Linked DNA regions of Homo sapiens: all the other regions are linked to region 3. Evidence: promoter capture Hi-C in human tissues and cell types (Jung and others, 2019). All regions are on one chromosome and are shown on one strand. The core of a region is centred on a gene start or on the middle of the fragment in contact, and the rest is flanking DNA. Distances in the headings are between cores, read along the strand shown. Region 1 holds the start of SMARCC1 (SWI/SNF related BAF chromatin remodeling complex subunit C1). Region 2 overlaps CCDC12 (coiled-coil domain containing 12). Region 3 holds the start of KIF9 (kinesin family member 9).

Evidence for each region. The method cuts DNA at HindIII sites, captures the fragments that hold promoters and counts their contacts. A contact is called where the count stands out against the background at its distance.
Region 1: a contact is called between the fragment with the promoter of SMARCC1 here and the fragment with the promoter of KIF9 in region 3, in 2 of the 25 tissues and cell types used here (dorsolateral prefrontal cortex and hippocampus).
Region 2: a fragment that was not itself captured here is called in contact with the fragment with the promoter of KIF9 in region 3 in 1 of the 25 tissues and cell types used here (dorsolateral prefrontal cortex).

Annotation. Positions count from the first base shown.
Region 1 is chr3:47,780,502-47,784,430 of GRCh38, forward strand. It overlaps SMARCC1 (SWI/SNF related BAF chromatin remodeling complex subunit C1), which reads right to left and starts at 1,392. Exons shown (of 28, transcript NM_003074.4): 1 at 1,102-1,392. The coding sequence starts at 1,296. RefSeq lists silencers at 866-1,105, 1,286-1,505, 1,916-1,965, 2,076-2,135 and an enhancer at 1,338-1,632. The HindIII fragment of the contact is 21,057 bases long and covers 1-3,929 here.
Region 2 is chr3:46,964,028-46,968,150 of GRCh38, forward strand. All of the region lies in intron 1 of CCDC12 (coiled-coil domain containing 12), which reads right to left. Among named protein-coding and RNA genes, the nearest start is that of CCDC12, 11 kb to the right of the region's middle. RefSeq lists enhancers at 604-1,161, 1,218-1,267, 2,071-3,001, 3,002-3,931 and a silencer at 2,533-2,704. The HindIII fragment of the contact is 9,046 bases long and covers 1-4,123 here.
Region 3 is chr3:47,281,349-47,285,609 of GRCh38, forward strand. KIF9 (kinesin family member 9) reads right to left here and starts at 1,451. Exons shown (of 21, transcript NM_182902.4): 1 at 1,147-1,451. KLHL18 (kelch like family member 18) reads left to right here and starts at 1,596. Exons shown (of 10, transcript NM_025010.5): 1 at 1,596-1,746. The coding sequence starts at 1,618. RefSeq lists enhancers at 775-1,974, 1,190-1,579. The HindIII fragment of the contact is 9,211 bases long and covers 1-4,261 here.

The DNA of each region.
Region 1 (3,929 bases), core at 142-2,641, 500 kb after region 3:
CCCATGCCTAATAACTGCCAAACACTGACAGGCTTCACTGAGCTGCTGAGGCCAAAAAAATAGGTTCCTAAACTAGTTTATGTTTTCATTCATTCAACAAATATTTACTAAGCAGCCACTAAGGGTAAGGCAATAAGTATCAGCCACGTTCCCGGATACACTGCAGTGAACAAAGCCCTTGCTTCAGTGCTATGATTCTCAATAGGAGAAAGTACAGAACTAAAGAGGGTGATAGGAAAACTTCAGAGGCTGGGGAGCCTTTTCGGCTACCTGCTTCATTACACCCTTTAAGGGAGTCCTCCTGAATATTTACACAAAAGGGAAGTTGGAAAAAAAAAAAACATTTGTTATAAACAAAGGATTAAGTCAAAACTTTGAAAACTACTGACTCGGCGGAACTTCCGTTCCAAAGGTAGGAGAAATCAGTAAATGAATAATTTCAAAATGTGGTAAACACTACGAAGAAAATAAAGGTGACACAAGAAAAGTGCTCTAATAAAAACTGGGTTCTTGGGGAAGGCCTCCCTTTAGAACACTTTACGTACAAGCGACCATCAACTCTCACGCCACACAGAACCAGAAGCACGATGAGGTAGAACCGTCGTTAATAGTTCTCATCCATCCTAGAATTCATATTGCCTGTTATTAATTAACGAATACAATCATCCCAGTCGTTTAGCAATTCAACAACAGGTAGCAAACCCCCTCGAGACTTTGAATACGCTCTAAACAAAACTTGAAGCTGCTTTTACCACGCTTGCTCGGTCTTTAGGGATCATTGTTCACACACCTAAGGCAGCTGACAAAAGAGAGAGAGTCACACTCGCTTAGTGGCTGAGCTCGACCTGCTCTGGCACACGAGACTGAGCAGGGGCTTTCACCATGGGTGCGTAGGCTCAGAGGAGAGAGCCCCGAACCCCAGTCAGGCCCCGGGATCGCGGGCGCCCAGAGCGGGCGGCGGGGGCGTGGCGGGCCCGGCGCCTGCCTTTGTTGTCCCTCGTGGCGTGCGGGGGGGAGGGGCGGCCCGAGGCCCGCGAGGCCAGCTGCCGCCTCCGGCCCCGGTCGCGTGGTCTCCCGGCCCCCACGGGCGCGCGAACCCACCTTCTTGTAGTGCTTGCCCAGCCAGACCCGCACCGAATCCAGCTGGGACACCGTCTCCGGGCTCTCCCAAAACTTGGTGGCCGGGCCCCCATCCTTCCGTCGATAAACAGCTAGGCCTGCGGCTGCCGCCGCAATCCCCGAGCCCGTGGCGCCTACCGCTGTCCCCGGCCCGCCGCCGCCCGCCGCTGCGGCCATCGTCGCAGCCCGTCGTCCCCACAGCCTGGCCCACCCCGGCCCTCGCGGTGTTTCCCGGTCGTTCCCGCGCGCACCCCCGCGCGCGTAGCCGCCACTGCCGCTTCCCGGCCCCGCCCAGCCAACCCTCTTCCGGCGCGGACGCCCGGCCCCGCCCCATCTGGGAACTGGCACTGTATCTGACGCGAGCCAGCGCACGCGCATGCGTAGCACTCGTGCGGCCGTGCCTTGGAATAGCACGTCCTGCGGCCTCAGCCGCCTCTTCCGCCATCCTCCGTAGGCTGCATTCTGCCCTAGTGAGCGCCGGTTTTTGAGCCTTGCTCTTCCCTCGCTACCGACGTCGAATCATTATGCGGTCAACAACCGCAGGTGGGTTATGTGTCATAGCCCGCCTCCGCTGGAGGGAAAAGGCCTGGTGCGAGAAATGCCCAAGGGAAAGCCTGTCTAGGGTATCGAGTGCTGGCCGAGGGCCCTGCACCCGGACTGGGACTGCGCCGGGCCCCGCTTTCCCTCAGGCCCTCCACCCCCAGCGGCCCGGCGGCATTTGTGAACAGCCATCTGGGACTCCCACGCCTAGGCTTTTCGGCTTCACAGACCTTCCACTCCCTCAGGGGTCCAGCCACAGCGGCTCATTCCTGCCCCAGGGGCCCTTGCACTGGCTCTTTCGAGACCTCAGCAGGTCTTCCCTTCTGATTTGCACTTACGAGACGCGTTCAGATTCACTGCTTCAAAGGACTTCAGAAAGTAGTTGTCAGATCTTAACAATCTTGAACAACTGTTCACACCCATACACTTTCTGCATAGCGCTCACCACGACCCGGCGTTTCTAGTTTCTCATTTACCTTCCACATAAATTACATGAGAACCTAATCTTAACTTGTTCACAGGTGTATCCTGAACACCTGAGACAAGGAACAGATGTACAGTAAATACTTGATGAGTTAATGAATGGCCCACATAGAAGCCGAAAATTTTTAAATTATTAACAAGGTATATTGGCCGGGTGCGGAGCACTTTGGGAGGCTGAGGCGGGAGGATCAATTGAGCCCAGGAGCTCTAGACCACCACACCCATCCCCGTCTCTACAAAAAATACAAAAATCAGCCAGCGTTGTGTTGCAAGCCTGTGGTCCTAGCCTCTTGGAGGGCTGAGGTGGGAGGATCCCTTGAGCTGGGGAGATGGAGGCTGCAGTGAGCTATAATCGCGCCACTCACTACACTTCAGCTTGGGCGACAGAGCGAAACCCTGTTTCAGAAACATAAAAAGTATGACTGGCCATAATGGAGTTGTGAACATAATGCTATATGATCGCAGAGAAGCAAGTAACTAATTGCTTGTGAGAACGTGACTAACTGCTGGTAAGTTTCTGAGATCTTTTAAAAATGAGGGTGTGTACATGTTTTCAGGATCTCCTGAGGGCTGTGTCACGGACAGTAAAATATATTAAATAAAAAAGTTAATAGAATGTGATCAAGAGGGCCAGGCGAGATAGCTCACGCCTGTAATCCCAACACTTTGGGAGGCCAAGGCAGACTGATCACGAGGTCAGGAGTTCCAGACCACCCTGGCCAACATGGTGAAACCCCGTCTCTACTAAAACTACAAAAATTGGCCAGGTGTGGTGGTGCATGCCTGTAATCCCAGCTACTCGGGAGGCTGAGGCAGGAGAATTGCTTGAACCCAGGAGGAGGTGGAGATCGCAGTGAGCTGAGATCACGCCACTGCACTCCAGCCTAGGCGACAGAGCCAAACTCGTCTGAAAAAAAAAGTTTTTAATTTGAAACTTTCTCAGATTTAACAGAAAAGTTGCAAATATAATACAAAGAACTTTTCCTGAATCATCTAAGAGTAAGTTGCTGACATAATACCCATCACTATCAAAAAGTTTAATGTGTATTTTCTACAGACAAGTATAGTCTATATATTCTCTTACATAATCACAATACAATCATTTATACCAGGAAATTAACACTGATGCCATCCCCAGACCCCATTCAGGTTTTTCCTATTGCACCATGAAGTCCTTTATAGCAAAAGTTTCCAGTTCAAAATCACACTTTGCATTTAATAAAGTTTCATCTCCTTCAATATGGAACAGTTCCTTAGTCCTTAAACCTTAACAACATTGATACCTATGAAGATTACAAGGCATTTATTTTGTAGAATGACCCTCAATTTAAGTTTGTCTGATGTTTGTATCTTTGTGTTCTTTGCATTGCATTCTATCAGGTGGTGCATAATTTCATTTCTCCTGTTACATTGATGACAGAGTATCATCCAGGTTTCTCTACTGCGAAGTTATTCTTTTTGCCTTTGTAATTAATCACTATTTTCTATGGAGGTATTTTGTTTTTTTGCTTTTCGGGGGTTTTTTGAGATAAAGTCTTGCTTTGTCACCCAAGCTGGAGTGCAGTGGTGTGATCATGGTTCACTGCAACCTCCACTTCCTAGGCTCAATTGATCCCTTTGTGGAGGTATTTTGAAAGTATATTGGCCGGGCGCAGTGGCTCACACCCGTAATCCCAACACTTTGGGAGGCCAAGGCAGGCAGATCATGAGGTCAGGAGTTCGAGACCAGCCTGGCCAACCTGGTGAAACTCCATCTCTACTAAAAATACAAAAATTAGCCGGGTGTG
Region 2 (4,123 bases), core at 1,162-3,661, 320 kb before region 3:
CACCCATCGTCTGAGATGTGGGGAGCGCCTTTGCCCCGCCGCCCCGTCTGGGATGTGAGGAGCGCCTCTGCCTAGCTGCGACCCCGTCTGGGAGGTGAGGAGCGTCTCTGCCCGGCCGCCCCGTCTGAGAAGTGAGGAGCCCCTCCGCCTGGCAGCCGCCCCGTCTGAGAAGTTAGGAGCCCCTCTGCCCGGCAGCTGCCCCGTCTGAGAAGTGAGGAGCCCCTCCGCCCGGCAGCCACCCCGTCCGGGAGGGAGGTGGGGGTCAGCCCCCGCCCGGCCAGCCGCCCCATCCGGGAGGGAGGTGGGGGGTCAGCCCCCGCCCGGCCAGCCGCCCCGTCTGGGAGGTGGGGGGCGCTTCTGCCCGGCCGCCCCTTCTGGGAAGTGAGGAGCCCCTCTACCCGGCCACCACCCGTCTGGGAGGTGTACCCAACAGCTCATTGAGAACGGGCCATGATGACAATGGCGGTTTTGAGGAACAGAAAAGGGGGAAAGGTGGGGAAAAGATTGAGAAATCGGATGGTTGCTGTGTCTGTGTAGAAAGAAGTAGACATGGGAGACTTTTCATTTTGTTCTGTACTAAGAAAAATTCTTCTGCCTTGGGATCCTGTTGATCTATGACCTTACCCCCAACCCCATGCTCTCTGAAACGTGTGCTGTGTCCACTCAGGGTTAAATGGATTAAGGGCGGTGCAAGATGTGCTTTGTTAAACAGATGCTTGAAGGCAGCATGCTCGTTAAGAGTCATTACCACTCCCTAATCTCAAGTACCCAGGGACACAAACACTGCTGAAGGCCGCAGGGTCCTCTGCCTAGGAAAACCAGAGACCTTTGTTCACTTGTTTATCTGCTGACCTTCCCTCCACTATTGTCCTATGACCCTGCCATATCCCCCTCTGCGAGAAACACCCAAGAATGATCAATAAAAAAATAAAATAAAATAAATAAAATAAAATAAAATAATTAAAATCTAGAGAGAACTAACTCAGTCAAGAGGACCATAAGGAAAAAGTCCTCCAAAGAGAAGATTAAGGACTCCCAAGCACACCCAGAAGACAGCTACTTGGACACTGAGAGGGAAGCACATCCCATTCACACCCTCCTGGCTCCAGGAGACAGGAGAAAAAAACTGAGGGATTCACCATCAAGACCATGCAAATTCTTTTGTTGCAAAAGCTAACAGAAAGATTAAAAACCAGCTTGAATTTCAACATTCCTTTGCTTTCCAATTCCCTGCCCCCTATCAGTGAGGCCTGGGGAACACAACTTACACCTTGTAATACCACAGAAGTCAACCAAACGGGAGACTGTGGCGGAACAACTGTGTCACTGGCACAGCAAGAAAGAGGAACCTTGTCTTGTGGCTGTCTAGTGCCTCTTCTGCTACATGGAGGGTGCTTCAGCCACCACAGGTGAGCTAAACCGTGAAGGATCCTGAATAGCCACCCATCTGCCTCGATGGAAACCGTGCCCTCTGAGGGAAATCCAGAGAGAGGCTCACCCTTCGCCCAGGCCAGGTGTTTCTCCCCAGCATATCAGACCAAACTGAACGGGGTCCCATTCTCTTCCCTGTAGCTCACTGCAGAGCCCCTCCTTGCAAAGCTCCAAGGGATGAGGGCAGCACCAATTCTATCCCAGAGGAAGAGCACCCCCAAACTTGGCCAGGAGGCGGTGGGCTCCCTGGCCCATCCCTCTGGCTCCATCTCCAGAGGACAAGGGATTGGCCCTGTGTGATTGTGTTTGGTCCCTTACTTCTCCACATCTGTGGTGTCTCAGGTACAAGTTAAAGGGGCCCTCAACCAGAGGTAAAATAAGAGTATAGGAGAAAGAATAAATGCACACATCACACTTCCCACCTCTCAGCTCCCTTCTGCACACACCATCTCACTTAACCCTTATCCTGGGAGGGAGGAGGTACTGTGGCCATCTTCCAGCTAAAAAGGATGTGAAGAGACTTACCTATCTACACATCCCAAGGTGAGCAGGGTGGCGGAGCCAGGTGGGCAAAGCAACCTGTCCAGAGAGCAGGGAATCATGAGAGAAACGGCCAGCCTGACCCAGAAGCAGTGGTCATATTGTAGGAGCTGCAGTGCAGCCCTCAGGACCTACGTGCAGGGACAGAAAGGACAGGGGAGGGGGGAGTGTACATTTACGGCAACTTGAATCTGTGCTCCCAGGTTGAAAAAAGAAAGAAAGAAAGAAAGCGGGCTGGGCACGGTGGCTCACGCCTATAATCCCAACACTTTGGGAGGCCAAAGCAGGGAGACGACTTGAGACCAGGAGTTTGAGACCAGCCTGGACAACATGGCGAAACCCCATCTCTACTAAAAATACAAAAATTAGCCGGGCGCGGTGACACACACCTATAATCCCAGCTACTCAGGTGGCTGAGGCAGGAGAACGGCTTGAGCACGGGGCGGGGCAGAGGCTGCAGTGAGCTGAGACTGCGCCACTGCACCCCAGCCTGGGCGACAGAGTGAGACTCTGTCTCAAAAAAAAAAAGAAAGAAAGAAAGAAAGAACGAAAGAAAAGGGCTAGAGTTGCTAGAGTGGCAATATGAAGACCTGAGCACTAGCAAGAAGGCTGCCAGCATCCAAACACCAGGTGAGTTCAGACAGCAAGGCTATAAGGGCACTGCCTCAGACTGGCGCTACCCTCCTGAGAGGAGGGATGGATGTCCCGGCTGGGGTCCAGTGAGGACTTCAAGCAGTGGAAAGGAGGCTTAATTTACAGGAAGGCTTTGGCCAGCATGCTGCACCTCAACCCAGCTGGCCTGGATTCCACTGGCACCACACACTTCCCTGAAACAGCTGGACCAAGCTCACCTATCACCTTGTCTTGCCAAAACCCATCCCCAGTCTTCGCCTGGCTTCTCTCAGCCCCACTGTCCTCATGCCGCCCCACCCCACCAAGTTTCCTTGGATTCTTCTAACTCCTGCTAAATACCTGCAGAGCGAGCCTCAGGGCACAGAATGATCTCCCAGTCCTCTGTCTCTGTGGTCTAAGCTCTGTCACCAGAGGGCCTCGTCTAGCCCCAGGGCTTGATATCCTGTATCTGTTTCTAGTCCAGATGCCTGCTTATGTCTCTCTTCGCTTACCTGTCTAACAGTCATCTCTGGCTTAATGTGGCCAAAGCCAGACTCTTGCCTTCCCCTTCAAAGCCCCTCTCCCCTGTACTTTGCCATCTCAGGAACCCTGTCTGTGCGCACTGCCTCACACCTGGGCTCCTGCAGCTGCCTCCTACCTCCACACACAGTCATCCAAGGGCATGTCAGCTTTGCTCAGACCTCCAGTGGTTCCCCAACCCCCTTAGCCTGAGGTCCAGCCTTGGTGGTCTGCAAGGCCCCCTTCTAACTAGCCCAGCCTCCCAGGCCCTCTCCACCCTCATCCCCCTTCCATACCTCCCACTGTTCACTCTACTCCTACTCCTCAAACATGCCAAGCTAGTCTTGCTCAGCTTGGAATGCTCTTCCCTAGATCTTGGCATCTCACTCCTCCATCCCCGTCTCAGAACTCCCAGGTGGTGGTCTTCCCAGCCTGGGCAGCTGCACAGCCTCTCCCCAACACACACACCACATTCCCAAGTTCCTGGGACACATAAACAGGGACACCATGTTCCTTGTTTCTAAGTATTCCCACTCCTTCCATAGAAGCCCCTTGAGGCAAGGAGGAAGTCTTGTTCATAGCTGTATCCCCAGGGCCTGTCATACAGCTGGTACTCAATAAATACTTATTAGTGGCTAGCTGCAGAGTTCCTGCAGTGAGCATGGGCAGCTAAGGTTCCAAGGGAAAAAAAAGTATCCTTCTTCCAATGAGAGAATGCCAGGGACTGATCAGAGATGTCCAGAAAAATTCATCAGAATCACCTGGGGAACTTTAAGAATGCATGAATTTATAGGCTATATACCAAGACCACAATAGGTCTGAGGTAGGGCCAGAAAAAAGGACTGCAAATTGTCTCTCAAGACAACCCAACGAACAGGTAGGTCTGAGAAACTCAGATAAATCCAACACCATCATTTCATACGTGAACATATTGAGGGCCTCAGAAGGAAATGCTGGCTCACCATAGGTATGTGTTGGGAACCCCAAATCTCCCACCCAGAAGATTCTCCCTCTCACTGCC
Region 3 (4,261 bases), core at 201-2,700:
TTTGTTTATTTGTTTTTGTGACAGGGTCTCACTCTGTCACCTAGGCTGGAGTGCAGTGAAACAATCTCGGTTCACCGTAGCCTCCACATCCTGGGTTCAAGCGATCCTCCCACCTCAGCCCCGCAAGTAGCTAGGACTACAGGCGTGCACCACCACGCCCGGGTAATTTTTGTATTTTTCGTAGAGACAGGGTTTCGCCATGTTGCCCAGGCTGGTCTTGAACTCCTGAGCTCAAGCAATCCGCTCACCTCAGCCTCCCAAAGTGCTAGGATTACAGGCGTGAGCCACGGCGCCCGGCCCCCTCCCTTTCTCCCTCAGGACCTTGTGGGGAATGTCTCTCCTTGGGGAACCACCCTTTGATATTTCTGGTATAACAAAGCAAGTCTCTGAATGGCCACCAGGAGACTTCTGTGTTAAGGCGCTCGAGGTTTCCTCATTTGTCTTTAGTGGGAATGAACAGAATTGGCAACAAGCAGCCATGAAGACTAGACAAGAGGAAAGGGAGCGTTTGGTGGGGTGGAAGGCACCAGGTGGGTCCCTATCTTCCAGTGCTCCCGTCCAGATGAGGGGCTGTCATGGGGAACCCTCATAGCTACCCGTAGCGGCAGCACCAACACCCGAATCCAAAACACTGGGTCCAACTGCACCTGGCCTTGGCTGAACAAGACTAGGATGCAGGCAAAACTAGACTTTCTCCTTTTTCTCACCCAATGTGCCGGACCCCCGCGTGGAGCCTGGGCGGCAGTGGGCTTTGGACCCATTCCGGTCCCTCTCTGGAGAGGTTTCCTCACCTGTAACACGAAGGGCTCCGACTGGTGATCCCAAAGCCCCCTCTAGTTCGAAAACTGACTAGTACGGAAGAGTCCAGACGACCTCTGGCTCCCTGCCTCACGGCCTCTATGTCCTGGACGCGACGTGGGACCCCTTTGTGGGACCAATGAACATTAGCTCCGAAGACCGTAAGCCGCGGTCAGGTTGAAAGGACTCCCGCGACGTCGAGCCCTCCTTCGCCTGGGTTTCAGAGATGAGCGACCCAGCTGGGAACCCCCAGATAAAGCGGTTTTTGGACCCCAGCCACTTTCAGCAGTCCGGGCGCACACCCTTTTCCCGTCTCCCCACTCCCACCGGCGAGCAGCCCCTGCTCACCGTTCACCAGGCAGCGACGCTCCCGGGACGCGACTGCCGCAACCGAAACCACCTGCACTCCCCACGCGGGGCTGCCTGGCTGTGTACATAGTCGCCATGGCAACGGGTCGCTTCCGGGGATTCCGGAAGTGTCGGGGTGGCGGAAATGAAGTCCGAGGTCCTACGTCGAGGATACGGGTGAGGTCATGGCCGAATCGGGAAGACGAGAGATGGGGCCGATTGATCTAGAAAGACTTCGGCGGATGCACATGCGAAGTCAAGGTCGAGATAGCGAGGGAACGAAGGCCGCACATGAACCAGGAAGCGGAGTGGCGGGGCTTCCGGCGCCGAGGAGATTCAACTACGGCGGCCGCGGAGGCCCGTCCGATTGCTGCTCCGCGCTCCGAGCGGCTGTCGGCGTGCGCTATCGCCCCGCCCTGGTTAGTGTCTAGCCGGCCGGCGAGGCCTGCGCAGTTGCAGCGGCCGGGGAAGATGGTGGAGGACGGCGCGGAGGAGCTGGAGGATCTGGTGCACTTCTCCGTGTCTGAGTTGCCTAGTCGCGGCTACGGCGTCATGGAGGAGATCCGGCGGCAGGGCAAGCTGTGCGACGTGACCCTCAAGGTACCGCGGACTGGGCGGCAGCGGGCTGAGGGAAAAGGGGTCGAGCGGGGAGTAAAAAGGGGCGGGGGACAGAGAAAGAGAGGTCTAGCAGGGAGAGGGGTGGGGAGAAGAGGTGTGAGGGGGGCCGAGTAGTGGGGAGAGAGGTGCCGAGCAAAAGGGGATCGGGGCCGAGTGGGGAGAGGAAGAGGACAACCTTTCAGCCCTTGAAAGGAAAGGTTGAGAGGTGCGCCGCTTAGGCCCTTGGAGTGGGAGACACGGGTGACAGCCTCCTTTTTCTGTCATGCAGACAAGAGAAAATGGACTTACCTTCTATGGAGGCAGGGGCGGTGGCCGGCTCCACATGCTGATGGGCACCACTGAAGAACCTTCTCTTGTCACTACAGATATTTCTTTGTGCCTGTCGAACTTGGCTGTGCTGTTCTAGAAGAGAAGGCTTCTCCTTAGGAATCATTGCCCTTAATTGTTGAATTACTACTTTGTCTCTTAAGAGCTTTTAAAATCTTCTCTGGAAAATTTTTGAGGTGGGAAGCCACCCTGCCCCATACTGGAAGGCACCACTCACCACCACAAAGGTCCCCGGGGCTGGGCCTGCTGGCCGCGTGGGGAGAGGGATGCTGACTGATATTAAGAGGGAAAGATATCTTAACCACCTGTTCCCCACCAGCATTCTGGTCGCTAGAGCCAGCCTCCCTCCTGTGCCTGGGTCTTTTCATGAGGAAGAGGCATGCTGTGCTGCTGCCTGGCCAAGCCACCGAACCATGTGGAGACGTCCGGTTGGGGAGATGATCAGTGGGGCTCCCTGTTGGGCTTTAGCTGGAAAGCTCTCAGCATCTGTGCGTGATCCCTGTTTAAAAAACAAACAGGGCAGGCATGGTGGCTCACACCTGTAATCCCAGCACTTTGAGAGGCGAGAGGATCACTTGAGTGGGGGAATTGGAGACCAGCCTGGGCTATGTAGGGAGACCCTGTCTCTACAAATAATAAAAAATTGTCTGGGCATGGTAGCCTGTGCCCGTAGTCCCAGCTACTCAGGAGGGTGAGGTGGGAGGATCGCTTGAGCCTAGGAGGTCAAGCCTGCAGTGAGTTGTAATCACACCACTGCACTCCAGCCTGGGCAACACAGCAAGATCCTATTTCTCCTATTTCTCTCTGTCTCTCTCACACACACACACACACACAAATAAATAAATAAAAGAAAAAATAAAACTATGCAGAGATTCTTTTGCTCTTCTTTTCTTTTTTCTTTTTTTTTTTTTTTTTGAGACGGAGTCTCGTTCTGTTGCCCAGGCTGGAGTGCAGTGGCGCTATCTTGGCTCACTGAAACTCTCTCTCCTGGGTTCAAGCGATTCTCCTGCCTCAGCCTCCCCAGCAGCTGGGACTACAGGCGCGCACCACTACCCCTGGCTAATTTTTTCTATTTTTAGTAGAGACAGGGTTTCACCATGTTGCTCAGGCTGGTCTCGAACTCCTGAGCTTCAGCAGTCTGCCTGTCTCGGCCTCCCAAAGTGCTAGAATTACACGCGTGAGTCACCGCGCCCAGCCTGCTCTTCTTATTTTCTACATGGTTAAGGAAACTTTTCTTCTGCAACATAGTTGAGTCAGACCTCTGGAGATGGTAGAGTAGGATGGTTGAGTATGGCTTTGAAAGCAGAAGGATTTGGATTAAAATCCTAGTTGTAACCTTGAGCAAGTTACTTAATCTCTGTAAGCCTCGGTTTTTTTGCTTTTATTTTTATTTTTTTGAGACAGAGTCTCGCTGTGTGGCACAGGCTGGAGTGCAGTGGCATGATCTTGGCTCACTGCAACCTCCACCTCCTGGCTTCAAGCCAGTCTCCTGCCTTAGCCTCCCAAGTAGCTGGGACTACAGGCGCCCGCCACCACGCCCGGCTAATTTTTGTGTGTGTTTTTAGTAGAGACAGGGTTTCACTACGTTAGCCAGACTGCTCCTGACCTCGTGATCCGCCCACCTCAGCCTCCCAAAGTGCTGGGATTACAGGCGTGAGCCACCAAGCCCGGCCCTTTTCATCATTCTAAACCCCTCCTGAAGGAGGTTGTTTTTCCAGGAGAGGAGTGAAGTGATCTGAGAAGGCGTGAGATCTTCTCATATGGGAAAGAGGAACCAAGAGAATTGAGAAAAAATGAGCTAGACTAAAGGAAGCAGAGGAAGTAAAAGTAAATTAGAAGTTTTTGTCCACAGTGATTACATGGTAGAAGATGTTAAGGCCACTAGAAACTTGTAAGCAGAAAAATGATCCGGTTTTGGCAGCAACACTTGGTGTAAATAGAGACTAGTGAAAAGCAGTAATAGGTGTGAATTTCTAGATTAAAATTTAGGCTGTAGGCTGGGCACCGTGGCTCACGCCTATTATCCCAGCACTTTGGAAGGCCAAGGCGAGTGGATCGCTTGAACCCAGGAGTTTGAGACCAGCCTGGGCAACATGGCAAAACCCCGTCTCTATTGGGGAAAAAAAAAAAAAGATTTAGGCTGTAAGGGTGAACCAGGGGAATCTTACAA